4 separate regions of the Homo sapiens genome follow, and regions 1, 2 and 4 are each linked to region 3. Evidence: promoter capture Hi-C in 16 types of primary human blood cells and fetal thymus (Javierre and others, 2016). All regions are on one chromosome and are shown on one strand. The core of a region is centred on a gene start or on the middle of the fragment in contact, and the rest is flanking DNA. Distances in the headings are between cores, read along the strand shown.

Region 1 (3,057 bases), core at 176-2,675, 1.0 Mb after region 3:
AGCCAGCACAGGAGGTGACCACGGTCCAGCTCCAGCCCGTGGCCGGCCAGCTCTCCAATTCCAGTGGGGGAGCTGTGGCTACTGAGGCACCCAACCTGCTGGTTGTTCAGAGCGGGGCAGCTGAGGAGTTGCTCACTGGCCCGGGCCCCGGGGAGGCGGGGGATGGCGAGGCCAGCACTGGTGTGGTCCAGGATGTCCTCTTTGAGACACTCCAGACGGACGAGGGCTTGCAGAGCGTGCTGGTGCTGAGCGGGGCCGATGGCGAACAGACTCGACTCTGCGTACAGGAGGTAGAAACACTTCCTCCTGGGCTGACGGAGCCGCCTGCCACCGGCCCACCCGGACAGAAACTCCTCATCATCCGCAGCGCCCCAGCCACTGAGCTGCTGGACAGCAGCAACACTGGAGGAGGCACCGCCACGCTGCAGCTCCTGGCCCCACCGCCGTCAGGCCCAGCCTCGGGCCCCGCGGGGCTCCCCGGGGCTCCAGCCTCCCAGATGGTGCAAGTGGTCCCCGCAGGAGCTGGGCCTGGTGTTATGACCCCTCAGGGCCTGCCCTCCATCCAGATTGTCCAGACTCTACCCGCAGTCCAGCTGGTGCACACGTTTTGAGGAGAGGCAGTGATTCCCCTCCCGCCCCGCACAGAGACCCCGACTCACTGCCAGCCGGGGCGGGGCAGGGTGCCGCAGGCTGGGCTTGCTAATAAAGACCCGAGTCTCCCCGCCTGTGTTTTGTTTTCCTGGGGGGAGGGAAGGGGGCAAAGTCATGGTCCTAGCCCCCGCCTGGGAGCGTGGAGTCTTAAGTCTTGCGTCCTGGGTCGCAGATGGCTTGTTCTGCATCCTGGGGCCAGCCACTACGTAGGGCTCAGTTCCCCTGTCCTGAAACCAAAAAAGGCCGCAGGGGTCATTATAGTGGGGAGGTGGTGACATCAGACTCCAGGGAGTGCTACTTGTTCACTGTAGGTCGCCCCGCTGCCCCCCTCGTGTGAGAAGTAGGGGGATCCTTATGCGGAAGGGTTCTGCGACCCCGGGCGCCCCGTGGGTGGAGTGGGGTCCCTGGGGATGGGGGAGTCGGGCGCCAGGATGCTGAGCGTGGCCGGCTCCTCCCGCGAAGGCCCCGGCACGGATGAGAATCCACGCGCTGGCGTCGCCGCCCGGCGCTCAGGTTGCTCAGCAACGAGGGAACGTGGGGCGGGAGCTCGCGCTGGTCCCCAGCCCGCCGCCCGTCTCCTGCCGGCTTCCGCTCCCGTTCTTCCCCAGGTCCCCTTTCCCCGTTGCTCCTTCTCTAGGGATAGGAGAGGTCGCTTCCCGGCCCTCCGCAGGGTCACAGCTCGGTTCCTCCCAGCCCGCCCTCCGGGGAGCTTAGCAACGGTTGCTACGGCCCGGAGCGGGCGCCGCCCCGCCCCACCGCGCGCGGTCTGACGTCACTTCCGCCCGCGACCCCCTTCCAGACCCGCTCCCGAAACCTTGTCGAAGGACCAAAGGCGACCGGTGCAGGTGCTTGCTGGTCCTTGTTCTTGTGGCGCGGGACGGGGACGACTGTGGGGGAGGGGGCGCTGGGGACCGGGGTGGAGCGAGCGTGGTCCGTTCTCTGGCATGTGGGGAGGGTGTTCGTGGACCCCAGTGCCTGGGAGGGAGCCCCGTGCTGCAGTGTTGGCGTCCGCAGCGCGTTTGGGAGTGTAGATCGCTGAATAATACGGGGGAGGGGGGATCCCGGGAGACTTTAGCAAGGTCGCTGAGTATTGTGGGGGGCGCCTGTCCTGCCGAGATCCTCGCTTGGGGGCCCCGAGGGTTCTCAGTGTCCTGATCTGGGAAGTGCCGTTGCTGCTCCCTACCCCTCGGGGGAGCTTTGGGGACAGAGGTGCCCCCCTGACGCTGACCTACTTATGTTCTCACCAGGTGCACGACGCCAGCTCCCTTCTGGGGGGCCGGGGCCTGGGGGTTGCCATGGCCCCCAGCCACCTGTCAGTGCGGGAGATGAGGGAAGATGAGAAGCCCCTGGTGCTGGAGATGCTGAAGGTGAGAGGCAGGGGCCCCAGGGGGCCTGGGAGTGGCTGCAGTGGGGGAATTGCAAGTGGATTCAGCCACCCCCTCCCACCCACCTGAGCCAGCCTGGACCCCTGGAGCGGGATCTTTTCCTCCTGAGCCTCAGCCGCCCTGCTGCTGAAAACCACAGCAGGTGTGGCAGGTGGGGGCTCACCCCCCCAGCCCTACTGGGACCCCAGCACCAACGCCCTCCCTGGTCTCCCATCTCCAGTCGGCTGTGCACGCCAGCACAACAGCCAGCTCTGTGCCTCGGACCCCAACTCTTCAAAGCACAGCCCAGCACCCCAACCTAGCCCAGCAGCCTCCCTCCAGCCTCCACTCCAGCCTGAGGCAACCTCCCTGTCCTTACTTCCCTGGGGCCTCACTGCGGCATTGCTACTGAATTGAGTGCCCCCACAGCTCCTAATTCACTCATCCATCCATCATTCGCTCTCGTTCATTCATTCACTCCATACCCAGTGTGCCACACTGAACATCGGACTGTGCTGCCTTCCCTTCCCATTTGGGAGCTCTCACCCCGCCCCGGGCAGGGTCTACCTCCTCTCTTTGTCCAGGAGGCCCTAGCGTTTCGGATGGCTGAGCCACCCCTCCTGCCCACAGGCCGGCGTGAAGGACACGGAAAACCGCGTGGCCCTCCATGCCTTGACACGGCCGCCGGCCCTGCTCCTCCTGGCGGCGGCCAGCAGCGGCCTGCGCTTTGTCCTGGCTTCCTTCGCCCTGGCCCTCCTCCTGCCGGTGTTCCTGGCTGTGGCCGCCGTGAAGCTGGGCCTGCGGGCCCGATGGGGCTCGCTGCCTCCGCCGGGTGGCCTGGGGGGCCCCTGGGTGGCCGTGCGGGGCTCCGGTGACGTGTGTGGGGTCCTGGCTCTGGCCCCTGGCACAAATGCAGGGGACGGGGCCCGGGTCACCCGCCTGTCTGTCTCTCGCTGGCACCGCCGCCGGGGCGTGGGCAGGAGGCTGCTGGCCTTCGCGGAGGCCCGGGCTCGGGCCTGGGCTGGGGGCATGGGGGAGCCCC
Region 2 (3,375 bases), core at 395-2,894, 1.2 Mb after region 3:
AAAAGTCTTGATTAAGGCTTAGAGAAGCGAACACCTTGCCCAAGGCCACGCAGAGAGTAAAGATTTGAACGAATGATGTCTTGACTCCAGGGCCCAGGCTCTTAACATCGCAGATATGTTTCCTCATCCAGGAATCAGGGTCAAATATCACCTGGGACCAGTCCCTTTTTTCCACTCTGGAACCCCTTCCCCACTTCTGCCAGTCAGCAGGGAGGGATGAGAGCATTCGTGAGGCCTCTATGGCTCTGGAGTTTGATGGGCTCTCCGTTTCAAGGATCACAATACTGGTCTGCACTCTCAGTTGGACTCTATCCTCTCTGGAAGGTTTTTTTTTGTGGGGAGGTGGGGAGGGGTGTTGCTCATGTTGATCTTGAACTTCTAGATCCAGAAGGAGAGTTAGGGAGGCATAGGGATGTCTGGTGGAGCTCAGGGAAGTGCCTGTTTATCAGCTGATACAAGATCATCTCACTGTTTTACCCACCAGCATAGCTAAAATTGTGTATCTGGATGAATGTCAAACACACCTTTGTCAAGAGACTTGGAGAGAGGGATGGGCGAGGTGTTGGGGGACACAGGGGTGCTCTAGACCCTGTGAGCACTGACTCTGCCCCTCTCTCCTCTTAGCTGGCTCCAGTGCCCAGACCCAAGCCCCCCACTGCTCAATGGACACCCCCAGCCCAGACCCGTTGCCTTCGCCTTTGCCCGGGGAGGAAGAGAAACCTCTGGCCTTATCTCCTCCTGTTCCCCGGGGCCGCCGAGGCCGTCGTCCTGGGGGAGCCACCTCCTCAAATCGGACACTCAAGGCCTCCCTCCCTCGCAAGCGGGGCCGCCCCCCCAAGTCAGGGCAGGAGCCCCCACTGGTGCAGGTGCAGGGGGTGACAGCCCCAGTAGGCAGCAGTGGCGGGAGCGACCTCCTCCTGATCGATGATCAGGGTGTGCCCTATACGGTCTCTGAAGGTTCAGCGGCTGGGCCTGAGGGCTCTGGCCCCAGGAAGGCCCCACACTTCTGCCCGGTGTGCCTGCGGGCCTTCCCCTACCTCTCCGACCTGGAGCGCCACAGCATCTCGCACTCAGAGCTGAAGCCGCACCAGTGCAAGGTTTGCGGCAAGACCTTCAAGCGCTCCAGCCACCTGCGGCGGCACTGCAACATCCATGCCGGCCTGCGGCCCTTCCGCTGCCCGCTGTGCCCCCGCCGCTTCCGCGAGGCGGGCGAGCTGGCGCACCACCACCGCGTGCACTCGGGGGAGCGCCCGTACCAGTGCCCCATCTGCCGGCTGCGCTTTACAGAGGCCAACACGCTCCGGCGCCATGCGAAGCGCAAGCACCCGGAGGCCATGGGGGTACCCCTGTGTGCACCAGATCCAGGGTCTGAACCGCCGTGGGACGAGGAGGGCATCCCGGCCACAGCAGGGGCCGAGGAGGAGGAGGAGACAGAGGGGAAAGGGGAGCCGGCCTGACCCACACCCCCGGCCATCGCTCCCTGGGCCAGGTTTAGAGCAGGGAGTTTGGCTGGTGCTGGGCCTGAGCCAGGGGGCCGGGACACCCTTGTTTCCGGTGGTCTTCCCGTTGTGGGAGCAGGTGGAGGGTGGAGACCTAAACTTTGGGGTCCAGCTGCCTTCAGCCCCCCTCCCCCAGACTAACAGACCCTTGGAGGCAGGGGCTGTGGAAATAAATCTCTGCCTGCTGGCTGCCTGTGTGTGTTCCGTGCCGGGATGCCATCCTCTCCTGCCTTCAAATGTTCTTCCTCGGCTACACCGTCCTGTCGGGAGTGCGGGGAATTGGAGAGGACCCCACTTCCTGTGCCTCATGAGCGTGGTGCTCGCCAAAGAATGGTTTTGGGGGGAACCTTGGCCCCTTCCCCATCTCCATCAGACCCCAAAGTCCATGGGTCCCTCGGAGTCCGCGGGGAATTGGTTCCACGAACCTCGCAGATACCAAGATCTGGGCATACACAAGTCCAGCAGTGGGCCCTGCGGAACCCGCGGATGTAGGAAAATCCGCCCTTCGTATACTGTATGTTCCACCGGTGTTTGGGTGAAAAAACGTCCGCCTCTCAATGGACCTGCAGTTCAAACCCCTGTTGTTCAAGGGTCAGCTGTATTCCCAGTACACATCCAATCTAACTAAAAACATTGAACCTTCCATGCAGACCTGACTGTAGGTCCGACCGCCTCTCTCCTAGCCAATTCCCAGAAATTCTGCAGCCACTTTGCCCCACCTCCTTGTCCTGAGGACCTACTGTTTGGAAGGAAAAATTAAGACAAAGGTATGAGCAGGACGGTCTGGGTAAGGTTTAGAGATAAGGGGTGTGGATTGGGGCGGGGCTAAGGAGCGAGGGGTGGGGCTGAGATTGCGGGGCAGTTAGGCTGGGACCTGGGGCGGGGGCTTAGAAGAGGGTTAGAGTTGGGTGGGGCTTAAAGAGGTTTAGGGGTTGGTCCGCAGAAAGTGAGAGCGGTTTAAAGAGGATGGATAGAGTTGATCTAATAGAGAGTAGGGGCTTGGAGCTGGGGAAGAACAGGAGGAACTGCGTGAGAGTGGGGCAAGGAGGACGGATAATTTTTTTTTTGAGACAGGGTCTCGCTCTGTCATCCAGGCTGGAGTGCAGTGGCCCTATCACCGCTCACTGCAGCCTCGACCTGCCAGGCTCAAGCGACCCTCCTGCTTCAGCCTCCGGAGTAGCTGAGACTACAGACGGGCGCCAGCATATTTAGCTAATTTTTTTTTTTTGAGACGGAGTCTTGCTGTCGTCCAGGCTGGAGTGCAGTGGGGCAATCTGGCTCACTGCAACCTCTGCCTCCCGGGTTCAAGCAGTTCTCTCCCTCAGCCTCCCGAGTAGCTGGAATTACAGGCGCCCGCCACCACGCCTGGCTAATTTTTGTAATTTTAGTAGAGACGGGGTTTCACCATCTTGGCCAGGCTGGTCTTGACCTCCTGACCTCGTGATCCACCCGCCTCGGCCTCCCAAAGTGCTGGGATTACAGGCGTGAGCCACCGCGTCCAGCCTAATTTTTGTATTTTTTTTTTTTGTAGAGACGGGGTTTTGCCATATTGCCCAGGCTGGTCTTGAACTCCTGTGCTCAAGCAATCCGCCTGCCTTGGCCTCCCAAAGTGCTGGGATTACAGGCGTGAGCCACCACGCCAGGCCAAGAGAACGGATTTTAAGGTGAGGGGCGGAGCTTATAATAATTCAGCTCTGAGGTGGGCGTGGTTCAGGGCCGAGGGCCGGGGGCCGGGGCTTAAAGGAGAAACTCTGAGGGAACAGGGTATTGGAGGTGGGACTTAGAAGGTGCTGATGGGGGCGCACGACTGCTATGGAGGCGATGGGGAGAGAAGGAAGTACTTAATCTAAGGGAAGTTCCTGGGAGAGTGGAAGCT
Region 3 (3,390 bases), core at 510-3,009:
AAAATAAAAGTACAGTTATAAACACCTCTTTTAAAAGGCAGAGACTGTTCGCTTGGGCAAAAAAAAGCAAGATCCAACTACATGCTATCTACAAGAAACCCACCCTAAATACAACAGGTAAAAGGAAGCTAAATGGAACGTGGGTCCTGGCTTGTACCCTGGCATGTAAAGAAAACATTGGAGGAAAAGGTGGTGAAATCCCAGTAAAGTCTGGGTTTTAGTTACAGTAATGCATCATGTCAGTATCTACAACAAACCACTTTTGTTGGTGCTTGTGATGACAGCATCAGAAGAAAGTGGGCATAAAACATGGTGGACTGCTTATGATCTTTGCAACTTTTCTTTTTTTTTTTTTTGAGACAAGAATTTCACTCTTGTTGCCCAGGCTGGAGTGCAATGGTGTAACCTCGGCTCACTGCAACCTTGGCCTCCTGGGTTCAAGCGATTCTCCTGCCTCAGCCTCCCGAGTAGCCGGGATTACAGGTGCACGCGCCACCACGCCCAGCTAATTTCTGTATTTTTAGTAGAGACGGGACTTCACCATGTTGGCCAGGCTGATCTTGAACTCCTGACCCCAGGTGATCCACCCATCTCGGCCTCCCAAAGTGTTGGGATTACAGGCGTGAGCCAGCGCGCCCGGTCTTTGCAACGTTTTGAATAAATCCAAAATTATTCCAGAACAAAAAGCTTAGTACCAAAAAGAAAACAAAAACAAAAACAAAACAAACCCCCCCCCCCCCACAGAGTAAAATAACGGAAAAAGATCTACTATGCTAGCACTAACAAAATAATACGTAGTTATGAAAATGGTATGTATTTTTCAAGCTAGACGTTCATAATGGTAGAACATGAGGAGGAAAACTGCCTCTTAAATCCCACCACTTACTGTGACACAGTGACCGGTCCCTGCAGCGGACTGGATAGTTGTATCAGAGTCCTGGACGGAAACAGATGGCACTCAAAAGGTGGCGCGCAGTTCAGAGAAATGCCTATGTACGGATTTGGTCCAATGCCTCAGCCTGACCTCAGGGACCTTCGGGGGTCTGCTCCGCGCCCACCCTTACACATCTGTGACCCCACACACTTCCACCCCAGCGCCACTGCCAACAGCTACACCCATCCCCCTCCAACCGCGTCAGCTTCCAGCCTCGGTCCATCTGAACTCGCCGTGCCCCCTCCCCTGCGCCCTTCCAGATTCATTTGCTAGGGAAGCCCGCTCTTCCGGGTGGAGCTGTTCCTCATCCCCTTTCTTTATCATTCTCTCCCCAGGGCTTCCACATCACCGTGCTGTGGACAATCCCGGAACTCCTGTCACGCCAGTTTACATTTAGGAACAGTAATGGCTCCCACTGACTCAGTCAAAACAAGGCTGCGGCCGGGCACGGTGGCTCACGCCCGTAATCCCAGCACTTTGGGAAGCCGAGACGGAGGGATCACGAGGTCAGGAGTTCGAGAACAGCCTGGCCGACATGGTGAAACCCCGTCTTTACTAAAAACACAAAAATTAGCCGGGCATAGTGGCGCGCGCCTGTAATCCCAGCTACTCCGGAGGCTGAGGCAGAATTGTTTGAACCCAGGAGGCGGAGGTTGCAGTGAGCAGAGATCACGCCACTGTACTCTATCGTGGGCGACGACAGAGCAAGAGCAAGACTCCGTCTCCGAGAACAACAACAACAGCAACAAGAAAACAACAATAAAAAAAATAAGGCTGCGTGGGAGGCAGAAAGAGCTAATGCGGCCACGCTTGTCTCCTCGGGGCCACCGTCCCCACCCAGACTTCCGGTCTGCCTTAAAATGTTCATGCGTAAGTGCGTGGGCAGGAAGGCGGGCTCAAGCGCAGCTCGTGGCGTTCATTGGCTGTGCAGGGCCGAGGGAGGCGGTGCAAGGCCGCCGCGTGACGTCAGGACGCCGCGGTCAGGACGTCGAAGCCAAAGAAGACCAGAGCCAGCCGGGTGGCACAGCGGTGTCGTGGCCGTGTTGCTGATCGCCTGGGTGGTTGTTGGCGTGTCCCTGCAGCGAAGGATCCTGGTTGGTAAGGGGAGCGGCAGGCGAGCAGGCGGGCGGGGATAGCATCTCCTTTTGGTCTTGCGCCCCGCGAGCCCCGAGGCCTTCTCGGCCGTCGCAGCAGCAGACGCCGCGCGCGAGCGTCGACAGGGTGTGGCGGCGCAGGGGCAGCCACTGCGCCTGCGCACCGGGCCTGGGGCCGCGCGTTCGGGCACTAGCGCGCGTGCGCCGTCGTCTTCTAATTTCCGTTCCTCTCCCTTGGAGTTCTCGGGGCCCCGGGGCGCCCCTCACTCGCCGTTGACCGGGTGTTGCCCCGGGCGACGGGCGGCTCCTGCGCGTCTTTCTGGGGCGTGGTGCGCAGGCGCGGCCTGGGCAGTGGCTCCGTGGCTAGTCGTGGGGATCCGAGCGGCCTCCTCCACCCGGCGTCCTCCTTTGCCTTCGCCCAGCCTGCGGGACGGCCAGGTGCTCCCGGGACCTCAGGCCTCGCGTCTGATGCCTGTCTCTGTTCTTGAGACCCGTCCGGGAGTCCTCTGTCCAGCCCCCAACTCCTGACCTTACCTCTAATCTCCCTTCTGCCCTGGGGCTCCTCTTCCTGTGTCCCCGCCACGATCCCTCGTCTCCACCCACGCCCTGTGTCCTGTTTAAGTTAAGCCTTTGCGTTTCTAGGGCTTTTCCCCAGCTCCAGACTCCCGTTCCTATCCCGTCAACTCGTGGGAATTCCGGTTCTCCTGCGGGATTAATTATCCTACTTATCAGTTACTCCCTCTCGGGAGTTTAGGCTCCTGAATCCTTGCTCCGGAGACACTCCACTTTTCTTCCAATTCTCTCTGTACCCCACTCTTAATTCGTTGAACATGTTTTGGGTCTTCTTTGGCATTCCCAAAGCTTTATGTCCAGACACCCAACCACGGTGATCCCTTTTCTCTCCCAGCCCTACCCCTGCTTCCGGGAACCTCCCGTGGAAGCAGGCAGGGGTAGTCCCACTGAGGACTCCCACGTAGGTCTCTTTACTGCCCTTCGGAGACCTTTTTGAAATCAGTCTGTCAGTGCTAAGAACCCATTTCTTCACGTTGGGGTTCACGTTGGCATTCTCAGGAACGCTCAACGACCACTTGCTTCCAGGGTTAACTTCCGGAAAATCCCCTTTTCCTCTCAAAATTTTCTTCTCTTCTCCAATATTCTTCCAGCCCCCTCGATGCTCCCTGAAAGGCCTCCCTTTTCACAGAGTTCTCGGAAACCTTTCCACCCTCTCAGCCTTAAGGGTTCCCTCAGACTCTTCTCATTATAGCATCCATCCTCTTGGTTCAGGTTCCTTTCACAACCCGTACTCCCTAGCTTTTTTTTTTTTTTTTTTTTTGAGACAGAGTTTCGCTCTTGTTGCCCAGG
Region 4 (3,056 bases), core at 354-2,853, 1.2 Mb after region 3:
AAGCATGCCACTGCACTCCAGCGTGGGCGACAGAGTGAGACTCTGTCTCAAAAAATATACATACTGCCCAGTAAAATGTTTAAAAAGTACCTTGTGTCCCAAACCAAATATAACTGTGAGGCCTTTTGGGCCCTTGGGCCTCCAGTTTACAACTGGTTGACAGTGGTCTCTGGAATTGTTCCATAAGGTAGGAGCCATATGTGGCTTAAATTTTGATTATGGGAAATTAGTATTTTTTGAGACAGTCTCCCTCTGTTGCCCAGGCTGCAGTATAGTGGCACGATCTTGGCACACTGCAACCTCCACCTCCTGGGTTCAAGCGATTCTCCTGCCTCAGCCTCCCAAGTAGCTGGGACTGTAGGGGAGCACCACTACGGCCGGCTAATTTTTGTACTTTTAGTAGAGAAGGAGTTTCACCATGTTGGCCAGGCTGGTCTCGAACTCCTGACCTCAGGTGATCCGCCCGCCTTGGCCTCCGAAAGTGCTGGGGTTACAGGTGTGAGCCACCGTGCTGATTATGGGAAATGTAATACAATTTAAAATTCAGGTCCTCTGATACACCAGCCACATTTCAAGAGTGTAAGAGTCCCACGTGGCTAGTGACTGTCATAGAACTTTCCACCATTGCAGAAAGTTCTGATGGACAGTGCTCTAGGATGTAGCTGTGGCACCCCAGGGTCTTGGGGCTCGCTGTGACAGTTACTCCTCTTCTGTCCCCCACTCTCAGCTGCACCTGCAGATGCTGCTGCTGCCGCCCTCCTGCGAGGCCGTGGCGCCACGTGGCTGGAGGAGGAGCTGCAGCTGCCCCGAGTGCTGCCGCGTGTGCAGCTCTCCAGTGCGGCTGCAGCGCCACCGCGCGTTGCTTTCGACGCCGGAGTCCTTCGCATGCGCAGCCAGCGCCCGGGCCTCAAGTGCCCCAGGACCTGGCGCAGCCCGCGAGCCCGCATCAGGCTTCCAGTGGGCCCCGTGGGCAGTGCCAGCCTTTCCCACCTCCGCATCTGGCAAAGCCTGGCCTTCGCTGCGCTTCGGTGTCGCCACATGCCTTCTGGAAATATCACACCTCCCCACCTGCGCATGCAGCCGTCTGGCCCTCTGTGGGCCTCGGTTCCCGCATGTGCCCCGTGGAAAGAACATACCTTCCCCAACTATCTGGCAGCGTCTGGCCTTCTCCGGGCCTCGGCCTCCCCATTTGCTGGGTGGAGAATCACGGCCCGGCCACATCGGAGCCAATGGCTGGTCTCTGGACCTCGGTCTCCACATTTGCTCAGCCGGCAGGAACATCCCTTCTCCCGCCCTCTACCTCGGTGGGTGGCCACGGCCGAGCAGGCAGCGACGGCCCAGTGGAAAGAGGACAAACCCTTGTGGGCCTTAGGGCGAAGACGTAACTTTGCTTAGTCTCGGTTTATTGGCCGATCTCTTGTCAAGCGGCGGAATCGTTCCGTTCGGGAGGTGGGAGGGGAGCGGGGCCGCCGGGGGCGGGCGTCTTCAGTGGACCCCACGCCTCCGGTCCCCTCCCCGCAGGGCGCTCCGCAGAGGCGAGGGGTGGGAGCGCCGGCTCCAGGCGGCGGAACCTCCGCACTGGGCTCGCGCGCTTCCGGCCGGCGCCTTTTCCCAGGGACTCCGCCAACCCCTCGCACCCCCGCGCCCCCAGTCCCCGCGTCCCCGGCGCCGCCGGCCCGGAGCTGCCCGGAAGTCTCGGTTCCGCCGCCGGCGCTCGCCAGGGGAAGCCCGGGGCCGCCCGGGACCTCGGCCCGTTCCTCCGGACCCGAGAGGCCGCCGCACGGGGTACGGGGGCCGGGATGGAGGGAGGAGCCTGGCCCTGGGACGACGCCGGGGCCAGGCAGGCTGGGGGAGTGCGCTGGAGCCACCCGGGATGGGGGTGGGGGTCGGGAGCGGCAGGATCGGGCGGAGGGACGGGAGGGGAAGTCGAGGCGCCAGGGCTCCTTGGGGAAGTGAAGGCAATAGGAGGGGCCCCAGGGCCAGGGGACAGGCGGTGTGTAGCGGGATGGGGGCGAAAACGCCCGGGCGCTGGGGTTCCCATAAACAAGGGGAGCAGAGCAAAAGAACGGGCGGGGGACCACGCTGTGTGTAACAGGGAGAGGGATGGGGCTCCTGGAAGAGGTGAACACGAGGAGAAAGAGAGATGCCAGACGTACACAGAAAGGAGGGGAAAGTGGGCTTGGGAGAGGTGCTGTGGGAAGCGGAGTCCCGGAGCCTGGTGTGCATAACGGGGTTTGGGAGAAGGCCCCTGATGGGTACAGAAAGAAGTAACGATGTCACCGCCATATATGGGGGGCGAGAGAAAAGGGGGCCTTTGGGGAGAATGTAGCAGGTAGCCAGGTTGGGGGGGCGGGGTATACAGAAGGAAGGCATTTGAGCCATTTTGGGGTGTATAGATGTAGTAAGACGATGGGTTCCGTAGTGGGGAGAGGTGACTAGACTTCGAGGTGCTAAGTGTAGGAACAGGATGGAAAAGCCCTAGTGAAATGTGGGGAATTGGGTTAGTGGGGCTCTGGGGAGGTACCTAGAGAGGAAGTGAGGGAGGCCACGGAATATGAAGATGGGGAGGCCCTGCGGCATGTAGTGGGGACGGAGGGCCAGGAGGCCGATACGGGGGCCGGTGGGGGGGTAGGGGGCGGCAAAGGGAGGGGAAGTAAACTGAACTGGGGCTGGGCAACAGGAAAAAAGAAGAAACCACAGATTAGAGAAATCTCGGCGGTCAGGAGGCCCGGGGTCTAAGATGTAAAGAGGTAAACAGATTTAGGGATTGATTGTCTGCTGGGGTGGGTTGAGAGGAGAAAAGGGAAGAAAAGTCGGGGGACTACGTCCTCAGACCTGACCTGAGTGGTGAGAGGTGGACCCAGGAGGAGTGGCAGGTGGTGGCGGGGTTTTGCAGAGCTCAGTTGGAGGCCCTCTCCGAGGCAGCTTGATGGAACGTGGGAGAGCCGGGCTGGAGTCACAGTTTTTATTTTGCTAGGGAGGTAGTCAGTGGCGCACAAAGGGTAACAAGCAGTGATAGTGGGGATGCTTTCCATTTTAGGAAACTTTTCCTAAAA

Evidence for each region. Contacts are between HindIII fragments. The CHiCAGO score rates a contact against its expected background, and 5 or more counts as called.
Region 1: a contact is called between the fragment with the promoter of NAT14 here and the fragment with the promoter of LENG8-AS1 in region 3, in 1 of 17 cell types (naive CD4 T cells). The highest score is 7.1, in naive CD4 T cells.
Region 2: a contact is called between a fragment that was not itself captured here and the fragment with the promoter of LENG8-AS1 in region 3, in 4 of 17 cell types (activated CD4 T cells, fetal thymus, naive CD4 T cells and 1 more). The highest score is 11.3, in activated CD4 T cells.
Region 4: a contact is called between the fragment with the promoter of ZNF580 here and the fragment with the promoter of LENG8-AS1 in region 3, in 4 of 17 cell types (activated CD4 T cells, naive CD4 T cells, total CD4 T cells and 1 more). The highest score is 7.7, in activated CD4 T cells.

Annotation. Positions count from the first base shown.
Region 1 is chr19:55,483,763-55,486,819 of GRCh38, forward strand. It overlaps NAT14 (N-acetyltransferase 14 (putative)), which reads left to right and starts at 1,426. Exons shown (of 3, transcript NM_020378.4): 1 at 1,426-1,496; 2 at 1,899-2,018; 3 at 2,646-3,057. The coding sequence starts at 1,947. It overlaps ZNF628 (zinc finger protein 628), which reads left to right. Exons shown (of 3, transcript NM_033113.3): 3 at 1-725. The coding sequence ends at 611. RefSeq lists a silencer at 1,216-1,635 and an enhancer at 1,736-2,065. The HindIII fragment of the contact is 21,455 bases long and covers 1-3,057 here.
Region 2 is chr19:55,601,451-55,604,825 of GRCh38, forward strand. It overlaps ZNF524 (zinc finger protein 524), which reads left to right. Exons shown (of 2, transcript NM_153219.4): 2 at 625-1,688. The coding sequence starts at 663. The coding sequence ends at 1,457. Among named protein-coding and RNA genes, the nearest start is that of ZNF865, 2.5 kb to the right of the region's middle. RefSeq lists enhancers at 1,165-1,715, 2,819-3,370, 3,371-3,375. The HindIII fragment of the contact is 3,453 bases long and covers 1-3,371 here.
Region 3 is chr19:54,447,279-54,450,668 of GRCh38, forward strand. It overlaps LENG8-AS1 (LENG8 antisense RNA 1), which reads right to left and starts at 1,760. Exons shown (of 3, transcript NR_126418.1): 1 at 1,284-1,760; 2 at 887-937. LENG8 (leukocyte receptor cluster member 8) reads left to right here and starts at 1,921. Exons shown (of 16, transcript NM_052925.4): 1 at 1,921-2,032. RefSeq lists an enhancer at 1,671-2,578. The HindIII fragment of the contact is 2,202 bases long and covers 686-2,887 here.
Region 4 is chr19:55,639,399-55,642,454 of GRCh38, forward strand. It overlaps ZNF580 (zinc finger protein 580), which reads left to right and starts at 1,604. Exons shown (of 2, transcript NM_207115.2): 1 at 1,604-1,785. It overlaps LOC107983998 (a long non-coding RNA gene), which reads left to right. Exons shown (of 2, transcript NR_171683.1): 2 at 728-1,401. It also overlaps a transcript of ZNF581 not described here. RefSeq lists a silencer at 1,454-1,973. The HindIII fragment of the contact is 9,119 bases long and covers 1-3,056 here.